Linked DNA regions of Homo sapiens: region 2 is linked to region 1. The links are contacts of gene promoters, found by promoter capture Hi-C in human tissues and cell types (Jung and others, 2019). All regions are on one chromosome and are shown on one strand. Each heading gives the region's core, a stretch centred on a gene start or on the middle of the fragment in contact. The rest is flanking DNA. Distances are from core to core; before and after follow the strand shown. Region 1 holds the start of CLCA2 (chloride channel accessory 2). Region 2 overlaps CLCA1 (chloride channel accessory 1).

Region 1 (6,384 bases), core at 1,923-4,422:
AGAGGTCACACTCTTGGATAGTCCTCACTTGGGTAAAACCTCATTCCTATGTCTGAAAATTTGTCCTGAGGCCAAAAGGAAAGAGTGCCCTTCATGGAATGGAATACTCAGAGGCTGTTTGGGGTTACTTTATACCTTATAGACCACAGTAATTCAGCTCTTATCTACTTTTCCTAACCCTTTCCCCCTTCCATGATTCCTACCTACATCTCATTGTAGACTTGGAAGGACAGGAACTACCTTGCTGGTCCTTGGGTTCTCTGAAGTGCCTAGCGTGGTCCCGTACATAATGATCATTCACTGTTTGCTTAATTGACATTCTGAGGTTAAAGAATTGGTATCCAACAGATAAATGAACAGCATCCAGGGACGATTGTTTCCTTTGGTCTTTCCGTTCACTCATATTTTCACTTTTGCTTTACTTATTTCTCTCCCCTCCATTAGGATCAAGTGTTACCTATGGCAACCTGGTTTTGGTGTTTGTTGTCTCCAATACTTCTTAGTTCTATTGAAGGCCCAATAGATGCATTAAATCTCTATTGACAGCTAGAGACAACAAAGCTTAGTGCAAAAAGCATGGGTTTTGGAGGCAAATAGACATTCAAATTATGGCTCTGTAATTTACTAGCTGTTAGATTTGGGACAAAGTCCATACCTTATTCAAGCCCCAGTGTTTTAATTTGTGATCACAGAAACTAATTTTAAGTTATGTGAGAATTAAATAATATATGTAAAATGCCTGGCACTTAGTTGGAGCTTAAACACTAACTCTTCCCAGCTTACCCCAGTTCCCCCACCTATCCTATCTTCATGTGCAAGCATTCTCAAATGCTTTCATCTGGTCATAGGTCAAATGCTTTTCACAGGCTCTTTAACTTCTTCAGGACATTGGGGTACCTATCTGGATTGCTATACCATTCAATTTCTGACAGAGTAGCTTTGAAGGAGAGCTAAGAATGAAACAGACTTAGGAAATTTCATACTGAGGGTCAGAAATAAGGAAAGGGGAAAGCTGTACCACATGTTTGAGTCATTCTGTTAGAGATGTAGTTACAATCTCAAACCCACTCCATTGCTGAAACCCTGAGATAAGTTGCCAATGCCTCTACTTCTGGCCCTTCTGGTAGCTGCAATGGACTCTTGTTCACAGTTGACTTCAAACAGTGATTTACCATTTATATTATTTATCATTTATTTATAGTGTGCACACTAGTATGTACCAGACATCATCATGGGTGCTTAATCATGATCTGCAACTTATGAGAGCCTTTCAAGGTGAAGTTCCTCTATAGGTGGAAAAAAAAAGGTAGCCATTCCCCTACTCATCCACATCCCCACATCCTTCCTCCCTTCCTTCTAATCTCCTTATTCCCCTAAAACAATATTCTGGACTTGAGCTAATGTGAAATTCTGATAATCTACACCATGGCATAAGATGGCAGTCATATTTTTATATGCATGGTGGTTTATATTTCTGTCTGGACATGCATGTTTATTGCTCCTGACAGGATGGTAAATGGGTATAGTCATAATTGGAACTGTTCCCTTTGCAGCTCATCCTCAGTAGGATAAAACTAGTTCTTGATCCTCAACCAAACTTTTCAGAAAGTACTCCATAAGTTACAAAATAAAGAGATCTTCTGAGAAACTACTTAGGCTATGGCATTTGACTCATTTTTTACTGCACAATTTGCATTCATTTATTCTCATATATTTTGTTGATAACATTCTGCCCATTAATATTATTTGCATTGTTAATACTGATGATTTGTTTTTACTTAACTTCTCACTTTTATCGTTTGAGCACAGTATATTTTGGTGTTTTTTTTCCCCTTGAGATCATTGAATGAAATCCTGGATTCTTACCTTTTCATATGATTCTTGTTTTATTTTGCTGTTATTATTAGCTTTCCATGTGGCAGGTATTAAAATCTTTATATTTCTGAAAAATACTCTTCTCTTGGTAGCATTAAATAGGTAAAATGAAGCTTCAGTTATCATTTCCTACAGCCAGACAAAAGAAAAACTTACTTTACCACTTGTAAATCCTGTATGTTTTGGTTTTCTGGTATGCTTAAACAGTAATAAAAGACAATGAAATATTTTGAAGAGACCCATTTCTTTTAGAGAAAGCCCTAGACTTTGGGAAAACATAGGAGCAAATTTTTAAAAAAACTTTAAATGATTATATGGAAGATTTTAGGACACTAATTATATGTCTGTGCTTGCCTTCATAGTTTTCCCAATTTTGAGAAAGGCTTTTAAGCTTTTGTGGAACAAATCCTTTTCATGTCACACCTGTGGGCACATTCAAGACCACACCTTATGATGCTACTGATTTCACTAAAGCAATACTAAATGGAGGCTCTTACATCATAGAGCTATGATCCTCCCTTGCCATATTAAAGTAAAAATAGTCAATTATGTTACAGCACATTCAAGTGAAAAGAAATAATTTTGCTTTTTGGCCCACCGTGCAGACTCTCACCCTTTCTGCCTGAGAATTCTCACCCTCAGGATGGAATCTAGCAATATGATTTTAACAAGCATGCTCATTATCATGCTTATTCATCAGTTAAATATTCAATCTTTGTTGCCACAATGGGTTGTTATTTTTCTAAGTTGCTACCCCAAAAACAGTCATGTAGGAAAACAAAAGAGCTGAAATTAGTAGCAACCAACAATAACAAAATAGAGGGCTAGATCAACACTCTGTGAGCTGAGACTACACAGAATTAGATGAACAAACTGGCTTAGTTAGCCATAATCATAACGTTGTGGCGCTATCTTTTAAAAATGCTGTTCTCTGTATTACTCAAATACAAACCAGGCAGGGTAGTTAGCTTCTAAATAAGGCTACAGGTCTGATCAAATGGGATGCTAGTATCAATTTCATAATTTCCACTCACCTTAATGTTTGAGATGAGGTTCTGATTCTCAGGTACCTGAGGATTAATTGCAATGAGCAATCCATTATACCCATTGTCTTGAAGCTGTACTCCAGCTCCCAGGAATGGGAGTTCTGAACTTAAGGCAACCAGGAGAGTCACAAACTTCAGGTTGCAAATAGGACCTGCAATGCTCCTTTGGGTCATGTTGTAGAGAAGCCTCCAGTTCACTCACACTGAGCCTGCTGCATACATTGTGTCAGGTTTTCAATATGGATGCAGATGGTTTCTTCCTGAACTTGCAAGGTTTTAGAACACAAGATGAAGGAGGTGTCTTCTTTGAAAAGTCTGGGGTGGATCCATCTGGGACCTGCCTCTACAAGTCCTTTTCCTCCAGGCAATGCTACACTTGCCTGTTCTGTGGCTGAGCTGCCTCCTGAATCATGGTTGGGCAAGAAACATTCTGCCCTTCATTCATTTTATAACTTTTCAGAAAGAAGAGGGAAATAAGACCAAAGGAGCTTAAAAGCAGGAAATATGGGCTGGAAATCAGTATATCTGGACTGTTCAATCCACTTGCAGTAGAAACACAGAAGTCTATAGTGATTTTCCTCTCCTCATTTTTCATAACCTCCTCCATCAGTTGGCACAAGTACTTTCTACTGCCCTCAAGTCATTTTTCATTTGTTGCAAGATTTCCTTGCCTGTTTATTTTGAAGATTTAGAAATCCATTCTGCAGCCCAGTCCCTACAGCCCTTGGGTCAGATAGTCTGGGCAAGCTCTCAGCTGATGGCTGGAGGTCAGATATCAGATATCCCCCAGAGAGGGCCAACTGCCAGGAACTTGGGTGCCTGTGCAGCCCTTTCCCTCTGGCCTTGCTACCTTTTCTCTCTGCCTCAGGAAGAAGAATAGATTTCTCCTTCAGCTCTCTCCTAAGGGCAAGGCCCTGCTTCAGTCAACCCTCCATTTCTCCAGGACCAAAAACAGGATCTAATATATAGTAACCATCGCAAATATTTTATGACTGATTCATAATACCTGATATTTACCTCATGCTTTAAAGTTTACAAATGAACTCATTTAAATATCAATACTCTGATGCAGGTATAATTTGTACTTTTCAAATGAAAATAATGAGTCTTGGAAATTCTGATTATGAAAATTAGCCAATGAGAGAAGAAACTAACATTTTTTGAGTGATGGATTTTATTATGCCTATTTTATGGGTGACAGAACTAATGTTCAAAAAAATCTAAGTAACTTGTTCAAGGTTGGGAGTATTATCATCGTACTAGAATGAACCAACTGACTCCAAATTCCACTGTTTTTCAATATATCATGTTCTCTCTTAGTTACTAAATTATCTTAGTAACCTCGTTTCTCCCTCTTCTTTGTGTTTAAGAATGCCGCACAGTGACATCTATTGTAAAACTAAAGAAAAAGTTTTATTCACAGCGTCAGAGGTCCACAGCAAGCAAAACCTGTGACTCTTCCCTGCTGTGGCCCCGTCTCGGAACATTTCTGGGGAGGGGAGTGTAGCATTTAGGAAACGGTCTGTCCCTGCTCTCAACAGGGATTTCACCAACATTGTCTGTTTTCAACATCTTCATGGGCAGTGTGATGTCACTCTTCTTCCCAGCAAGGTTGGAGTCTTCTGAACTTGGGCTTTGATATTGCACTGCAATGTTGACAGATGTTGAGGGAATTTTTTTCCCCTTGCTGTCTTGCTTGAATCATTTTCTCATGCTTCTTCTCACCTGCTTTTCCTTCAAATTCCAGCTGTGTCCTGGAAGCCTGGCCTGAGCTCCATAACTAAGTCAAATTCCCTTCTTTCATGCTTCCATAGCATCAGATAACTCACCTTTGCAGTATGATCATGGTAACAATGTCAAATTTATATTGTATAATTGATTGTCAGCTTCCTGCTGTATGAAGGAAGGGATGGAGTCTGTTTTCATTCAGTACTTCCCCAGCACCTATCTCAGTAAACTCTCTGTTGAATGACTGAATGAATGGAGTCAGGAGAAGTAAATAAAACAAGATAGTGAAGGAGCCCCGGGTTATAGTGTAAAAATTCTTTCCCCCACCCTTGTTTTCTAGAAGGCATCTCCTCTGTTCTAGAGCAGTTTCCCTCTTGCTCCCTCTTGACAGGCAGTGCTTGAGTATGGTGCTCTCCTTGAAGAATGGGATGGCGCTGGTCATTACGTGGCTGCCCAAGGGTCTTACCCTAAAGTTCAAAGGTCAGCTTAGCTGCCTTTTCTCCCAAACTGAATTCCCAGCCCTAGTTTTTTTCTGCTTGTTCACTGTGTCTTCAGAGTAGAAGGCCAGAGGTGTGGCAGCTCCAAAGGCTCTGTCTGTAAATGTGACTCATTGAGCAGAACAATGCACTTCATTTCAAATATCCCTGGCAGTTTATTTTCTTATGCCAACCTCTTGTGATTTTAAGAATACAAATATTCCCATCGATAAACCAATATGCTCAAAAACTAAACTCGTAAGCACACTGCAAGAGCGGCTTTTTGCCAACACTCAGGGAAGTTTTTCATGACACTTGTATAGGTTGTTTGCTATGGGAGGGAGTGATTGAGGACTGATATTCAGCACTCTCTCCACTTGTTTTTATCATTACTATGGTTCCCTTGGGATGTGAGGGTGGAAAATATTGGCTAGAGAGTGCATGCAACTTTATAAAGAACAGCTACAAATGAACAATTTTGTCCAGCTTCACTTGGGTTGAAACCTGAACAAGCTCACTCAGGCTTTGCTTAGCCCGGGTTGAGAGTCTAGGCATGATATCTACTCTTATCTATCTGATTTTTTTTAAACGTCTAATTCAGAGCCCTTTTTGTTATCAGCAACCAGGCCTGGGACCGGGCCAGCTGAAGGTCTCTTTTTACTGCCTTCTTCTTTCATCAGGCTGACCTTACAGCCTGAAAAGGTGGAGAAAATGAAATTGAGTAAAGGAATTAGAAATTATACTGAGCACAGCATCTTTTTGTGAAGTGTGACTTCGTCAATAAAGTGAACTTTTTATCCTTTCATTAAACAAAAATTAACTGGTCATAGCCATAGATTTTAGATTTTATAATATCTGAGAAAGGAAATATACCTAAAGGAAAAGAAAGGAGGAATACAGTTTTTAAGTGTTTATTTCAATGTTATATAAACTCTAGGAATCTGCTTTGCTTTTATTCTGCTTTCAAGAAAATAAGAGTTATTCAATTTCAGTAACTGAAGAATCTAAAGCACATCTTTGTTCATTGTCTGACTCTGTAGTTCAACCTGGCCCCAGAAGGGCCTGTCTATTTTTTTCATGGAGTCAGCTGGTATAGACCCACAGTCTAAGTGAATAAAACATCCAATTGGTGTCAGAGAAGTCAGGAGATTTGACATTTTGGGGAAATCAAAGAAAATTTTGGATTAGTTCCTCTCAGGCTTTGGTTTCAACAATCCCATTTAGAAGAGGAAAGTGTAGTACACTGTACGGTTGGGCTA
Region 2 (6,384 bases), core at 2,849-5,348, 66 kb before region 1:
TTAATTTTCCTCTTTTCCTTTTTTGGGGGTTGTGGAATACCCTATGGCAACTCCCCAGAGACTGAATCTATTGAGCTTGAGCTGTTAATGTGTTTTGGGCCTTGCAGAAGCCCTCATGTTTTCCAGCATTTTGAAATGTAGGAATTGTGGGGAAATGGAGAACTCTCCCAACCAGACCTCAGTGCTGTGCTGCCTTGCCTGTCTAACTGCCCTCACCAGACCATGCCCTCTTGGCATTCCCTGGTTGCTTCTTGGAAAAAGAAATAAATATCTTCCAATTTCTTGGGTGATTACCTGCTCCATTATCCAGTAGTTCCAAGGTAACTGTTTTTCCATTCACTGATTCAATCAGGGCTGTGACACTGGCCCTGAGAATTGGGGAGGCTCCTTGGCGAATATTTGCATAAACTACCAGAGGGCTGGGGAATTTGCTGGTGTCCTTGTTCGTTTTGGAAGTCACTGTAATTGGAGGCAGGGTAGCATTGGACGCACGGGACGTGACAGTCAGGGTCAAGGTTTGTGAGCTTGCTTGCAGACTGTATTTCCAAGTGCCAACCTGACCAAAACACATGTAAACATTTCCAATGAATAACTTCAGGTGACACAGACCTGACTTCAATGTCACGTACGGGAAAACCCTCTGATATAAGCATGTTGGAAGCATATCTAAGAAGAGGTGTGCATGTTTGATACTCTGTCAGCCACGGGGAGCTTCAGTGTGTTTGAACTAACTATATCATTCCCATTGTCAAGAAAATTCCACGGCGGGTGGGAGGGGGATGGTGAGGTCTGAAAGCTATATGCTTATTGTTGCCTTGGTTTTATAAGAGATGAGTCTCTGAGATAAAGGAAATAACTTTTATGATCCCAAAATGTCGAGGATCATTTTGCATCTTGATTACTATGTAATTTAAAGGTTCTCCATTTAGTACCTGGACAAAATATCACCTATTTCCTTTGTCTTTACTTGCTGACATACTGAGTGATTTTCATTGGATGGAGATTTTTTTTCCTCGTTCTCTCTTTGATTCAATACTGACTCTCCTTTTAGCAACCACCAACATTTAAAATGCTACAATTATTCTGTAAAAACTTTATTTTATCTTGTTGAATTATGAGAAAGAAAAAAAGCTGACTCCATACCTTAGCAATGCCTGGGATTTGGAGGTAGGCCATTTTGGTGTTTTTGTCCACTACAAAGCCACCTTGCTTCTGTCCACTGGGATCCCAGAGAAGGATTTGGGGAGGCTGCATTGTCCAGGTGATAAGAAACAAAGTGTCCTTTCCCACGGTGCTGTCCACGATCACTGTGCCATTCATCCACTGGCTGTTCTGGAGGGTTAATCCCTTACTCTCAAGCTGTTAAGAAAAACAGCTCTTACTTTCTGGAGAATACAGCTCCCATCACATGATCTTTTCCCTTCTGCCCCTGTCTCCCCAGTGCGCCATTAAAAAGACTTCAGTGATGCCTGAATCCTTGATTTGGTGTTAGGAGCAATTATGATGCAGTTCTAAGTTACCTTTCTAGCCTTAGCTTCCACAATTTTCCATCCTCCACCCAAACAAGACCACTCCCCAAAGGTCCTTGTGAATCCCTGACTCTTTGACTTTATTATCGTACTCTTTAGTTTTCCTAGAAGGCTTTACATTTGTCTTCTCCATTTATCTAAGCCTTCTTAGTCTTCTCTGTTTGTCTAAGCCTTACCCATCCTTCAAAATTCAAATATTACTTTCTCCATGAAGGTTTCTCTGCTGTCCATCTCATTTACCAGTTGTAAAAAATCTCCCCTTCCTCTGATCTCCTATAGGATTTTATTTCTATCAATCCTTCGACATTCATCATATTGTGCTTCGCCCTATATTTATTGGTATATGAAGCTCATCTTATTTATTAGACTATGAACCCTTAAGGGGACTCACTGTGACTTATTTTTTACCCACGCATGGATTGTCTGAATTACCTAATTGCTAAGTCAGGTAGTATTGCAGGCCCTGTGGAGATAAATGACATAAGCCAAGGCCAGCTTGTTTGGAATAGAATGAGGGAGCTGCAGAGTGGGAGTGAGGTAAGGAAGGATTAACAAGGCTTTTTTAGAAAATGTGATTTTGAGGATTATCTCCTAGGTAGTTATTGTCTCAGAGTTAGCACCTATTAGAAGACAGAGTGGGCTGGTCATAGAGCCAGATTTCCTAGTTTCACAGGTAGATCACAAGCTGGCAAGTGGAGAAAGCGAAGGGCTATTAGATCTGGTTCTTGTGGCACACTGGTGAATGAGTCTTGCTCATTTCTCCATCTCTCTCTCTCTCTCTGTTAGGTTTCTTAAATACAAAAATCATAGGCAGAAATTTCCTAAATGTGAACTTGTCCTTTTATCACTTTAATTACTTTTCTAGGAGACATTCCTCCCTTTTCCAAAGCAGGCCCTTGCATTTAATTTTCTAAATCTGAACCAGAATAACCCAGATGGGTATAATTGCTGTCTTCCTAGATTGAATAAATGCTCCATTGGTAAGCCAGAAAGCCTATGGTTTCAAAATCTCTCATTATTAGGCTTTGACATTACAGTTTTCCTTTATCTTTATCTGAACTTTCATCATAAAAATTATAATTCACACCAGTGTGAATGCTGATTGTTCACTCTCTCTAGTTTAAAAATTAATGTGAATAATTTCTGCAATTACTAAAAAAGAGCATTGAAAAAATACATTTTTCTTTTTTCTTAATAGTTTCAAGACTTTTAAAAGGCAATTTGGTTTTCTTGAAATTTTAGACCAGATGGGCCATTGGAAGTTTTCTGTCTCTACCTGGTGGAGAAATGAAGGTCCACAGAGGTGAAGTTCTTTGCCTAGGTCACATAGTTAATGGCAGACCGAGGACCAAGATCCAGGGGTCTGGACTCACACCACTGGCTTTTTACAGTACAAAGCACTTTCTGTCCATTATATGTAAATCTTGGCAAACAACAGAAATTTGATGTAATGGAAAAATAAAGCAAGTAATCCCTGGACACTTGTCCCAGAAAATTTGTAATTGAGATGATCTACTCTGAAGAAAATTCTGAGCCAATTATATTGCTCTAGTTGCTTGTTCAGAGATGTTAAAAAAGAATTCTTGGACATATGACATTTTATCTGCTGACTTCTGTGAGGAATTCACTTGGTATTGCTTCCAAACAAGTAGACACTAATTGCCTTGTTTAAATGAGTAGTGTTGCATTTTAGGAATAATGTTTAATATCAAGCTGGACCTTCTATTTTCATTTTAATTCAGTACCAGAAGAGTGGAAAACTTAAAACTTTTAGCCATTAAATTCTCCATCTTGGCTATGATTATGTGTAAATATGAAAAACCAAAGATTAAGAACTCCAACCTGGATGGAGCGCTGAGAGACAGCTCCATTTCCTGATGAAAGGGCCCCAAAAGCATCAATGAGGCCATTGTTCTGAACTTGATCTGAAGCATATGTCTGTAAACCTCCTAAAATGCAATTACATTTTCAGAAATTATTTTCCAGAAAGCAACTATTTGCAACATTTTAGCTGTTGTTTAGAGAGCATACAATATAAATATCCCTTTGTGTTATTAAAGTATAAATAGATCAACATCAAATAGGTGCCTACATTAACTCAGAATTTGATAGTATTTTTTTAACCTATTTATTTTTTCTAAGACAGGCTCTCACTCTGTTGCCCAGGGTGGAGTACAGTGGCATGATCCTGGCTCACTGCAACCTCCACCTTCCAGGCTCAAGCGATCTTCCTACCTCAGCTCCCAAGTAGCTGGGATTACAAGCATATGCCAACATGTCTAATTTTTGTATTTTTTTTTTTTTTTTTTTTTTTAGAGATGGGTTTTGCCATGTTACTCAGGCTGGTCTTGAACTCCTGGGCTCAATCAATCCACCTGCCTTGGCCTCCTAAAATTCTGGGATTACAGGAGTGAGCCACCACACCCAGCCACTAATTTTTAAATCTTAGTAAATAATAGCTTCAGCAACATCTCAGTCACCTGGCTACTTCAACTATCTGCAAAGCAGCCATGAATCTCTGATATGATTTGATATTAATTTATGATATAAATTGATGTCATAAAATCTACATATTAAAGGTCCTGCACTTTTACATGAGAGAAGTCATTAAGCCGTACTCCAGGACTATCGATTTACTCTTATTTGAAACATAATTCCAACAAACGTGGCTTTAGAGTTTTCTTCTAAATGAGGAAAGGCACATATGTGACAGCAGCAAGAAAAAACAGTGGACAAAGGGACACTTACAGAATAGTATATTATAAAAACAGGATTTTACACCAGGCCAGGCAGTCCTGGGCTATTTAGAATAGGTGTCACTAAGTTAGTTGATGTGAAAGCACTTTTTAACTATTATAATTCCATCTGAACTTAAGGAAATAATTTCAGTAAGGCTGTTGATGCCCCACGCACATCCCCTTACCCAGCCAAGTGCATCTCTTCCCAGCTGCTCTAGGCATTGGCTTATAGCTGCCTCCTCTTCCAGGGAATTATCTTACCAAAAGGGGCCACCCTACCTAGAGAAATAACATGCCCCTCTCCTCTGCCCTGTTCTGACAGTCCACAGCCAAAGACTGATAGACACAATGGTGCAAAAGGCCACCCTCCTGTCTCAAGGTGAGACAAGTCTGTGATGTACTTTCCATTCCAGAGTCCCCTGTGGGCACAGCTAGACTCCGACTAGGTCTGCATCAGTGCTTAGCTCCTTCCCTGGCCCTATCCTTTCCTCCTTCCTTTTCTCCTAAGAGCTCTCTCTCCTATAAATTGCATGGACCCAAATCCCTGTCTCAGGCTCTGCTTCTAAGAAACCCAGCCTAGGACAGGTAGTATTAGGAATAAACAGCTCTGGCATTTTAGTGGCCTCAGAAGGCAACTCAGTATAATAATTGAGATCCACAATATTATCCCTAAGTTAAAAAAGAAAAATATGTGTTCACCTACTCTGCTAAAGAAGCTGGTGACACATGGAATCTATTTTAACCATCTGTCTGTGTATGGGAGTTAGACACACAATACGTGAAGGTTTTATGGAGGAACTGCATTGTATTCCATTTTGGGAGTGATCTTTTGCCTTGTTTAACATGCCCTTTGCTCTTCCCTGCTACTTCTCCTGTTTCTTGAATGCTTTTTCTCCAGGTAAAGTTAAAGCCTCCCTTATTTGTGCTTTATTGTACTTTCTGTTGCTAATATAGCACTTATGCCATGGTGTTATGTAGTTAGTGGCTTGTCATCTGTCTCCCCTAGGTCTCTTGGCCAGCTGCCACTGGAAAGGAGTGGTTCCTGGCCCGGGAAGAAGGTCCTGAGTCCTCACTAGAGTGCTGTGCTAGTTCCATCTTCTCCAGGCTGCCTTAGTCCTAGACACAAAGCTTTAAAATAAATGGGCAGAGTCCACTTAAACAGTCATTCAGGGGTAAGGGTGGCTAGTTAGCCAATTAGGTTATCCTATCTCTCTCCATCCCATCTTTCCCCCACTCCCCAGTTCACTGGAGCTCACAGTCCAGTAGGAGAGACAATACCGGGGGTCTCAGCAAATCATCCCTCACCTGTCATTTTGGACAGCTCCTCTAGTTCTTGAGCTGCAGAGGGCCCCAAAGCGACTGTGTGGATGATGGCACCACTTTGTTTGACCTCGTTAAAGCACCCACTTATAGTGTTGTCTTCCCCATCCGTCAGCAGCACAATTTCAGATCCATCAGTTGGATATTTCTTCCTAATCACCTAAGGACAGAATTTAGGGCACGAGTTATCAGACTTAGGGTGGCCAAAGTGTTTATGAAAATTCTGCTTACAGGAAAGGAGAAAAGAAATTCTAGAGGGAATAACCAAAATTGTCTGGGAATGACCAAATATCTGTCTGTCTTGAAATGATACAATCTTAACCCAGCAGCATTCATGGAACTTGACCGCTGTCTTTCCCCTTGGCTGGTCTGCTGCAGAGAGGGACGGTGTGGGATGCAGGGCAACTCTAGGGGTGGACAGCACTGGGGAAACAGCAAAGAAGGTGTTCCTAGTTTCCTTCACTTGGTCTCTCCTTGATAGGCTTTCAGAGCTTCCAAGATGCCTTCAGAAACCATCTCATTTAATGGGGATTATATTGGGGGGATATTAGACCCAGGGCAGACTTTAACTTATATGATATTCACCAGTCTGACAATACCAGCTATTTCTGGCTGGCATTGGTTCTGATTGGTCATTACCTAGGTCACATGAGTTGTCAATATTTTTAACAGCCTTTCTGATTAAAGCAAAACATTTCATTTCCATTAATTCTCAGTTCCTAGTTGTTCTGTGACACCTATGTCTCAACTACTCCTGGTATATTTGGATTATTTATTTATTTTTTTATATGGTATAG

The links. Contacts are between HindIII fragments. The study calls those that stand out against the background at their distance.
Region 2: a contact is called between a fragment that was not itself captured here and the fragment with the promoter of CLCA2 in region 1, in 2 of the 25 tissues and cell types used here (liver and lymphoblastoid cells).

The regions. Positions count from the first base shown.
Region 1 is chr1:86,420,959-86,427,342 of GRCh38, reverse strand. CLCA2 (chloride channel accessory 2) reads right to left here and starts at 3,172. Exons shown (of 14, transcript NM_006536.7): 1 at 2,910-3,172; 2 at 1,867-2,004. The coding sequence starts at 3,095. The HindIII fragment of the contact is 8,393 bases long and covers 1,276-6,384 here.
Region 2 is chr1:86,488,359-86,494,742 of GRCh38, reverse strand. It overlaps CLCA1 (chloride channel accessory 1), which reads right to left. Exons shown (of 14, transcript NM_001285.4): 8 at 5,573-5,747; 9 at 3,372-3,478; 10 at 1,144-1,359; 11 at 295-556. The region is part of intron 1 of LOC124904210 (a long non-coding RNA gene); the gene reads left to right. Among named protein-coding and RNA genes, the nearest start is that of CLCA1, 23 kb to the right of the region's middle. The HindIII fragment of the contact is 7,623 bases long and covers 287-6,384 here.